Linked DNA regions of Homo sapiens: region 2 is linked to region 1. The links are contacts of gene promoters, found by promoter capture Hi-C in blood cells and fetal thymus (Javierre and others, 2016). All regions are on one chromosome and are shown on one strand. The core of a region is centred on a gene start or on the middle of the fragment in contact, and the rest is flanking DNA. Distances in the headings are between cores, read along the strand shown. Region 1 holds the start of CYP2U1 (cytochrome P450 family 2 subfamily U member 1). Region 2 overlaps ELOVL6 (ELOVL fatty acid elongase 6).

Region 1 (4,020 bases), core at 956-3,455:
AGGAGAATCGCATGAACCTGGGAGGCGGAGGTTGCAGTGAGCCGAGATCACACCACTGCATTCCAGCATGGGCGAAAGAGCGAGATTCCATCGCAAAAAATAATAATAATAAAATAAAAGTGTATCCATAATATTATGAACAATATCCCTTCCTGTATTCGTTTGCTAGGGCAGCCATAACAAAGTACTACAGACTGGATGTTTTAAACAACAGAAATTTATATTTATATCCTCACCGTTCTGGAGACTAGAAGTCAAAACTCAAGGTGTCAGCAGGGTTGATTTCTTCTGAGACCTCTCTCCTGACTTGTAGATGGCTGCCTTCTGACTGTGTCCTCACATCCTCTTTCCTCTCTGTGTCCTTATCTCCTCTTCAGACACCAGTCATATTGGTAAGAGCCCATCCACAGGACTCCATTTTAGCTTAATTACCTCTTTAAAGGCCCTTTCTCCAAATACAGTCTTATTCTGAGGCACTGGGGGTTAGGACTTCAACATATAGTGGTGAGGAGAGGCTGAATTCAGCCCAGATTTCCTATCTGCCCCGCACAGCTATTAACCTAGTGAAAATGAGAGATTTAGGAAAACACTACACGTGCAGTTACATCCTGTACAATATAAAAGGGTGGCTGTTGGAGTTGTTAAATTAGTCACAGCTTCAACTATTTTAAAATCATTTATGAATTTAAATTGCTTGTATGGGATGATGTATATAGTGGCTACTGTTTCAGAGAGCAAAGCCCTAGAATCAGATGACATCCAGAATGTCATGTTGAAGATCGTATCTGCAAACAAGTAGTTTAAATTTTTAAAAACTTCTCTTAATTCAAAAATTCAAAAAAAATGAGAAAAGTAATCTCACAAGTAGTGGTTAATTATAGAAGATGAGAGGTGTGGAGGTTTTTTTTTTTTGTTTGGGGTGCATAAGCTTAAAATAACATGAAAAGCATGTCAAAAAGAATATGAGAACAGAGTGGACTTGAAATTTAACATATCCTACTGGCATCACTTGTTTATAGAAAAATAAAATGGATCATGTATTTATTTGAGGACTCACTATGCTTTCTTTGATCACATTTTTATAGGTACAGCGTGGTGTTCAAACTTTTAATGTATGGAGAAAAATGAAACGGCTAGAAAAATGGCCCAGTACAGACAATTCTATGCTCAATCCAACTTGAACAGAAACTACAGGATTTGGCCTAAACAAGACTGAAAGGGAAGCCCTTATCAGGAAAGCCATTATCTGAGAAGATAAAATAAAGTAATACTTTGTTTTTAAAGTATTATACAATTCATATCTAATATTTCAACCTCAGCCTTTCAAGTGTTGTCTAACACCAATAATAATATTGCCACCCCTCCCTCAACCGGTTATCTTCTTTTCATATTTCTAGCTACTTAAATCCACCAAGCAAATTCTGGTTTCGCTATTTCTGGATTTAAGTACATTTTCTAATGCACCCAGGCCACACGCAGGAATGGACACAGCTTTCGCTCTCCGCATAAGTTTTCTAGCCCAGGGCAAGCTCTCAGAACGTGACTCCTCGTGCCTCGCTGCCCGCCCCTCGCTCCCCCCACTCCCGCCATCATCCCTTCCGCAGAGTTGGCTGCCAAGCCGACACCCACAGATTCTGCATTCCACGGCTTCCCAGCATCCTGCTGTCTCTGCGTGGAGGAAAGGGTGCTGCGAATCCCAGTTTAGATAAGGAACCCCGTCTTTTCACTACTACACCGAAGCATGCAGGAATAGGGCGTTGACCCCATTCTCCCAGCTCAGGGCACAGGTGCTAAGGCCGACCCATCTCACGGGCCTGTTCACCAGTTTCCCACACTCAGTACAGATCCTAACACGGTTTATGCACTTCATAACCATGCGTTTGTGTTTGTCAACTGACAAACGAGTGATAATGACAAACGAATGACACAAGGGAAACCAACAGCCAATCAGAGCGCAAGGTTGTGTTGCCAGCATCCCAGTTTCAGGGACAGTCACCGCCAAGCCCGACCCTGCAAAGGGTCGTAACCGGACTTCGGGGCAAACTTCAGGTCCCCCGCCTGCTAGCCCGCCAACCCCCTCCGCCAGGCAGCCGGCGCGCCTCCAGGTTCCGCCCAGGCGTCGCTGAGTGGCGGCGGCGGGGAGAATGCGCGCGGCGCAGCCAATCCGGGGGCGTTCCTACACCCCCTGCCCGCCCCCGACCTTCCAGAGCAGAGCAGGACACTGGCGCCGCGGGTCAGGCAGCTGCGTGCGCGTCTCCTCCAGGCAGCAAGGGGAACCCGAGGCCGCCGGCGCCCGGACCATGTCGTCTCCGGGGCCGTCGCAGCCGCCGGCCGAGGACCCGCCCTGGCCCGCGCGCCTCCTGCGTGCGCCTCTGGGGCTGCTGCGGCTGGACCCCAGCGGGGGCGCGCTGCTGCTATGCGGCCTCGTAGCGCTGCTGGGCTGGAGCTGGCTGCGGAGGCGCCGGGCGCGGGGCATCCCGCCCGGGCCCACGCCCTGGCCTCTGGTGGGCAACTTCGGTCACGTGCTGCTGCCTCCCTTCCTCCGGCGGCGGAGCTGGCTGAGCAGCAGGACCAGGGCCGCAGGGATTGATCCCTCGGTCATAGGCCCGCAGGTGCTCCTGGCTCACCTAGCCCGCGTGTACGGCAGCATCTTCAGCTTCTTTATCGGCCACTACCTGGTGGTGGTCCTCAGCGACTTCCACAGCGTGCGCGAGGCGCTGGTGCAGCAGGCCGAGGTCTTCAGCGACCGCCCGCGGGTGCCGCTCATCTCCATCGTGACCAAGGAGAAGGGTGAGCGGGAGGTCGTGGGCTGTGGGTACGCGGATGCCGCGGATGAGTCTCCAGGTGCGTGGGGGCTGCAGTTCCTGTGCCCCTTCCGGCCGCCCGCGCCCCCAGGCTGCCTCACACCTGCATCCTGAACTAACAGGTGATGGTGGTGGCGGCGCTTCTCCTTTCTGATGCCTTTAAGATCCCATCAAGTAGTGACGGACGCGTGACTTGCTCATACTCCAAGATCATAAGTAGAAAAGTCATCCGGAGATTGAGGGAGAGTAATAGGGATGGCGGAAGGACAAGGTGGCAAGCCAGGTTCCATCTTTCCAAAAGTAGCCTTCCCTTCCACCAGCTGTGACCTCGGAGAGAAACTTTGGCCCCCATGTTAGAAAGAGGGAAGGATATTCTTTTTACCTTGTGGGTTTCGAATGTAAGAATTTAAGAAGATAATTTCCAATAAGATAAAAAGTCCAGAAAACACAGAAGAAGCCTATTACCAAATCTCCGGCTTTGGTTCATAGCCTCTGATTCCTGCGTATGGGAGTCTAAATTGGACATTTTTGGGGGTTGGAAAACGTGTTATCTGCTGCAATAAAATGTCCAATCTAACCTGTCTCTACCGTCCCCCTTTGTCTTACTGGCTGGCTTAGGTCTCTGACTTCTTTTCTGAGTCACTCCTACGCATCAGTCAGGTGTTAAATGCCTTTTCCTTGGGGAAGCCTTTTCTCACAGCCTCTGCAAGTAGGGTAGCCTCCCTTGTTAGAACCAGGTCCCTTGCCCAAGCACTTTTCCTTCACTACACTTTTCAAAACTGACGCTACATAACTTTATGACCTTGGGCCTGGATGTCAGTCTTCACCACTGTTCTGACATCTAGGAGGACAGAGTCATTGCTGTCTGAAACATAGTAGGAGTTCAAGTATCTATTAAATGAATGCTATTTCCTGCCCCTATAACATGGCAAAGAAAGATCTAGGCTTTTCAGAATCTGATAAAGCCAGAGTTTTGCATCAGGATTTTAAACGGAAAAGACAAATATTGTATGATCCACTTATATGAGGTGCCTCCTAGCGTAGTGAAATTCATAGGGACAGAAAGTCTCAGTTTTGCAAGATGAAAAAAGTTCTATGGATGGATGGTAGCAATGGTTGCACAACAGTGTGACAGTACCTAATGCCATTAAGGTGTGCACTTAAAAATGGTTAAGATGGTAAATTTTATATGTATTTCACCACAATTTTTAAAAAA
Region 2 (4,020 bases), core at 798-3,297, 2.3 Mb after region 1:
CAGGAAGAAATTTAAAGCAATCCTCACTAAAGGAAAAACAACAGTGAAATACTATGTCTGCATTTGAAAAGTTTCATTAAGTTCCAATGTTATACACTTTGACACATTTAGAATCACCCTCAAACAAAAAAGCAACAGGCAATCCTCTGAAGATCACAAAATTTTACTTCCAATGTGAAAAAGACTTCATGAAAAAATTTTAAGCACTAATTATAACTAGTACAAATACACAGATGGATAATATAATCATAAAATATTTTGCATTAAGCTGGCTTTCATCCTTTGGAATCCTAAACAAGAATTGCATGAATATTTATAATTTATTAAAAGATACATGAAAGTTCATATCAAAGCTCCAGCACAACTTTACATTATTTTCTAGGACCCCACACAGATTACACGTTTTTTCTCTATGTATTTTCTCATTCTTCTCACTCTTAACCTAGTACATATGCCTACATCCCAGTGCTTTCTAAAAATTATTGAATGTCATGTTATGATCCTCACACAAGTTTTAATCCTAAATCAATATGAACTGTGATACCTCAAAATAAACAGCAAGTGACATGAGTACAATATAGACACACTATATTCCTACAGAGCTGACCAAATTTGTTGCTGCAATGTTAATGATGAAATGAAACTCTGGCCTACTCTGTTCCATAGTCACAGATGCACTGTTTTCCAGCCATTTTTCTTACAAATGAATGTAGAAGGTTGCAAGGAAGACTTCAGGAAGCAATTCAAAGCAATCCTCACTAAATGAAAAACAACAGCCAAATACTATGTCTGCATTTGAACAGTTTCATTAACATTATGCTGCTATATTTTTTATGCTGCTATATTTGAGTTAAATGCTAACACAGGTTTTTAGTGCTTTTTATGTTCTTTAATCATGAAATTGTACATCGTGTTACTTTCCAAACTTCACCTACAAAAAAGATATAGATGTACAACTCCTTTTAAAATGTTTCACGGCCGGTTGCAGTGGCTCAAGCCTGTTATCTCAGCACTTTCGGAGGCCGAGGTGGGCGGATTACTTGAGGTCAGGAGTTCAAGACCAACCTGACCAACACGGTGAATTCCCATCTCTACTAAAAATACAAAAATTAGCTTGGTGTCATGGCAGGCACCTGTAATCCCAGCTGCTTGGGAGGTTGAGACATAAGAATCACTGGAACCCGGAGGCAGAGGTTGCAGTGAGCCAAGATTGTGCCACTGCACTCCAGCCTGGGCAACAGAGTGAGACCCTGTCTCAAAAATAAAACAAAATAAAATAAAATGTTTCACTCCATTTTTACCTTTGGTAAAAACAAATTTGTGAATAAAAAGGCTTCCTCAGCTGAACAGCATTTAATTCTTAAAATTCCTATACTATCTTATAGACTCTATAATACAGAATACAAAATGTTAAAACAAGTAAACCCTTTTACACCACCAAGGGAGTGAGTGGGGAGAAAAGTCAGAAAAATATATAAAGCTTTGAAAGGCTGGATGTGTGGAGAATGCCAGGAGAGGGGGAGGGTTTCATGAAGTTCTAGGCAAGCCCTTTGAAGACGTCACCTCACATACATAATGTTACAGCAGTCAGCACAGGCCTCCTGCTTTCCTATTGGTGGGCACCGTGTCAGCCGACATCAGAAGATAATCATCATTGGCTAGACAATTACAACTGGAGCAACTAGCATCCACTGCTGTTAGCACAAACCTGGCAGGCTGCTGAAAGAGAAGGCAGAGAGAGCCCAGCTTCCCTTCTCACTCAATGAATTATATGTCGCCTTAGCAATCACCAGGTGATTTTGCTCCCTGGCTAGCAGCACTTCCAACTTAAGTCAGCTCTTAGTGAGAAAAACAGGTAAAGGCCAGACATCTCATAAAAGAGCAAAATGTCTCTATTTTCAATGTTGTAAAATTGCAAGGACTTTTCAGTGAAAATTAGAATTCAAAACTCCTATTTGGACCTATGAGCAGACATTTTTCTCTACCTCATGTAATAAACTCTCATTGACCAGATAATATAACCAGACAGGATATTTTTCACTGGACATGTAGTTTCAAGATGAGGCCCAGGATGATTCTACAAGGGAATACACTTATTACTTTGCATTTCAATTGCTATTCTAACCTATTATATATGAAACTTTTTGCTAGCAAAGTAAAAAAAGTCTGCAGTATTTACTTTCATGGCTAGGCCAATGAGTATGAGGTTAATGATTCATTAAAGCAGCAATAAACTTGAAAACTAGCCTCAGTTGAACCCTTTAGGGTTTATACAAATGCTACTCCAAAAGTCGGGCCCCATTCCATTAACACGTGCTATGGTTAGTAAGTATGGATTATAGGGTATGTTAACATTAATTTGCGCTATGGTTAGTAAGTATGGATTATAGCGTATGTTTAATAAAGTATTCTTATTTTAGGTCCTCTTAAATGATGCTAGTTAGCAAAGGCAGCATACTGGCAAAATACTACTCCTGGCCATTCTCACAGTTCTTCAAAAGCCAATGTAGTTCACTTTTGAGAGAGGATGTTTTAATTCTCTAAATTAACAAGTTTTGCCTGTTACTAAGAAGAGATTTATAAGGACAACCATAAATTCCCAAAAGACAGAGTAGAAGCTTCACTATATCATGTTTTTCCTCCAGAAGCTATTTCAAACCATTTTAAGTTAATGAGTCTGAAAAAGGTAAGATTTTATGGTTTCCTCAAGTTCCTCTCTCCTCAAGAGGGTCTAAGCCTTGGTTATGGAGTTCCCTTCTCCTATTAAAAAGGGAGTGAAAAGAAAATCTGGTTCAAGACTTTTTGTCCTGCATTAGCTGGATTCTATTAAAAATAAAAACTAAAAGCTTTAATTTGAACCTCCCGGGTTCAAGCAATTCTCCTGCCTCAACCTCCCGAGTAGCTGGGATTACAGGCACCCGCCACCACGCTCGGCTAATTTTTTTGTATTTTTAGTAGAGATGGGGTTTCACCATATTGGCCTGGCTGGTCTCGAACTCCTGTCGTCAGGTAATCCACCCACCTCAGCCTCCCAAAGTGCTGGGATTACAGGCAGGAGCCACCACACCCGGCTAATAAAATTAAATTTTAAAAAGTGTTTAAAGTCTTTTTGGCTGTACAGTTTTTGGGGAGGGAGGAGAGATAAAATTGGGCACCCTGGGATATTGGGAGAAATGCACAAAATCTGGCATTTAAAAAAAAACATGAAAGTAAGACAATTAGGGTCAGGAAGAGTTGCAAGGGAGGGGTAACAGCCAGCAGGGTTCTTTGACTGCAATAAGCAATCTAAGAACATAACATCAACAGAGAGCAGAAGCCAGGAAGGGAAAAATCCCAAGATGTGACTCTGCCACGGTATGCAAGTTCTAGCCTGTTAACCTTCGGGTATTAACGAGTAGTGCTGGCAATAAAATGGGCACCAATCACCATTTCAACTCACTGGACATTTTCTCAAGAATGTGCCTTATGCAAAGCACTCTGCTAGGTGCTTTGCAGAATCAAGAGTGGGATGACAAGAACCGTAACCTGAAGAGCTGATGGTCTGTAAGTTAATAACCATGTATATAACAGTAAAGGATATTGCCAGAAGAAAGGTACAGATAAAGAACTAGGAGGAAACAGTGGTCAGAACCTAACAGGAGTAGATACGTTGGCACATTTTTGTCATTTTCAGTCCCACGAGGGCTGAGACCTGTCTGGCTCAGTACTGAGTGAATGGAGAGAAGAGGCGGGAAATGGTACCTGAAGCAGGCCTAGGAAGTGGCCTCAGAGAAAAAGCAACAAGTAAATAAGAGGCAGTATCGACTGCAGTGGGCTAGGAATGGCGGGCGTACAGTGAATGGGGTCAGCCAGCAAAGCGAGGGAAAGCGGACTCCGGAAGAGCAGGTTAAACCAGGACGCAGCAAGTCAGAGATTCGGCACAGAAGCAAATGCTGACCACACTGACCACACAGGCTAATGCGGGAGGACTGTGGGCCCGAACAGGCCGGCTGGAGGATATGACAAACATGTGCGGAGAAG

The links. The method cuts DNA at HindIII sites, captures the fragments that hold promoters and counts their contacts. A CHiCAGO score of 5 or more calls a contact.
Region 2: a contact is called between a fragment that was not itself captured here and the fragment with the promoter of CYP2U1 in region 1, in 1 of 17 cell types (fetal thymus). The highest score is 5.1, in fetal thymus.

The regions. Positions count from the first base shown.
Region 1 is chr4:107,929,344-107,933,363 of GRCh38, forward strand. CYP2U1 (cytochrome P450 family 2 subfamily U member 1) reads left to right here and starts at 2,206. Exons shown (of 5, transcript NM_183075.3): 1 at 2,206-2,790. The coding sequence starts at 2,301. CYP2U1-AS1 (CYP2U1 and SGMS2 antisense RNA 1) reads right to left here and starts at 2,776. Exons shown (of 7, transcript NR_125929.1): 1 at 2,628-2,776. All of the region lies in intron 1 of LOC107986298 (a long non-coding RNA gene), which reads right to left. LOC124900751 (a long non-coding RNA gene) reads right to left here and starts at 2,242. Exons shown (of 2, transcript XR_007058221.1): 1 at 1,630-2,242; 2 at 1-560. RefSeq lists enhancers at 1,576-2,083, 2,744-2,813, 2,874-2,943 and a silencer at 1,944-2,533. The HindIII fragment of the contact is 6,450 bases long and covers 927-4,020 here.
Region 2 is chr4:110,192,347-110,196,366 of GRCh38, forward strand. The region is part of intron 1 of ELOVL6 (ELOVL fatty acid elongase 6); the gene reads right to left. Among named protein-coding and RNA genes, the nearest start is that of ELOVL6, 4.3 kb to the right of the region's middle. RefSeq lists an enhancer at 3,967-4,020 and a silencer at 3,996-4,020. The HindIII fragment of the contact is 1,138 bases long and covers 1,479-2,616 here.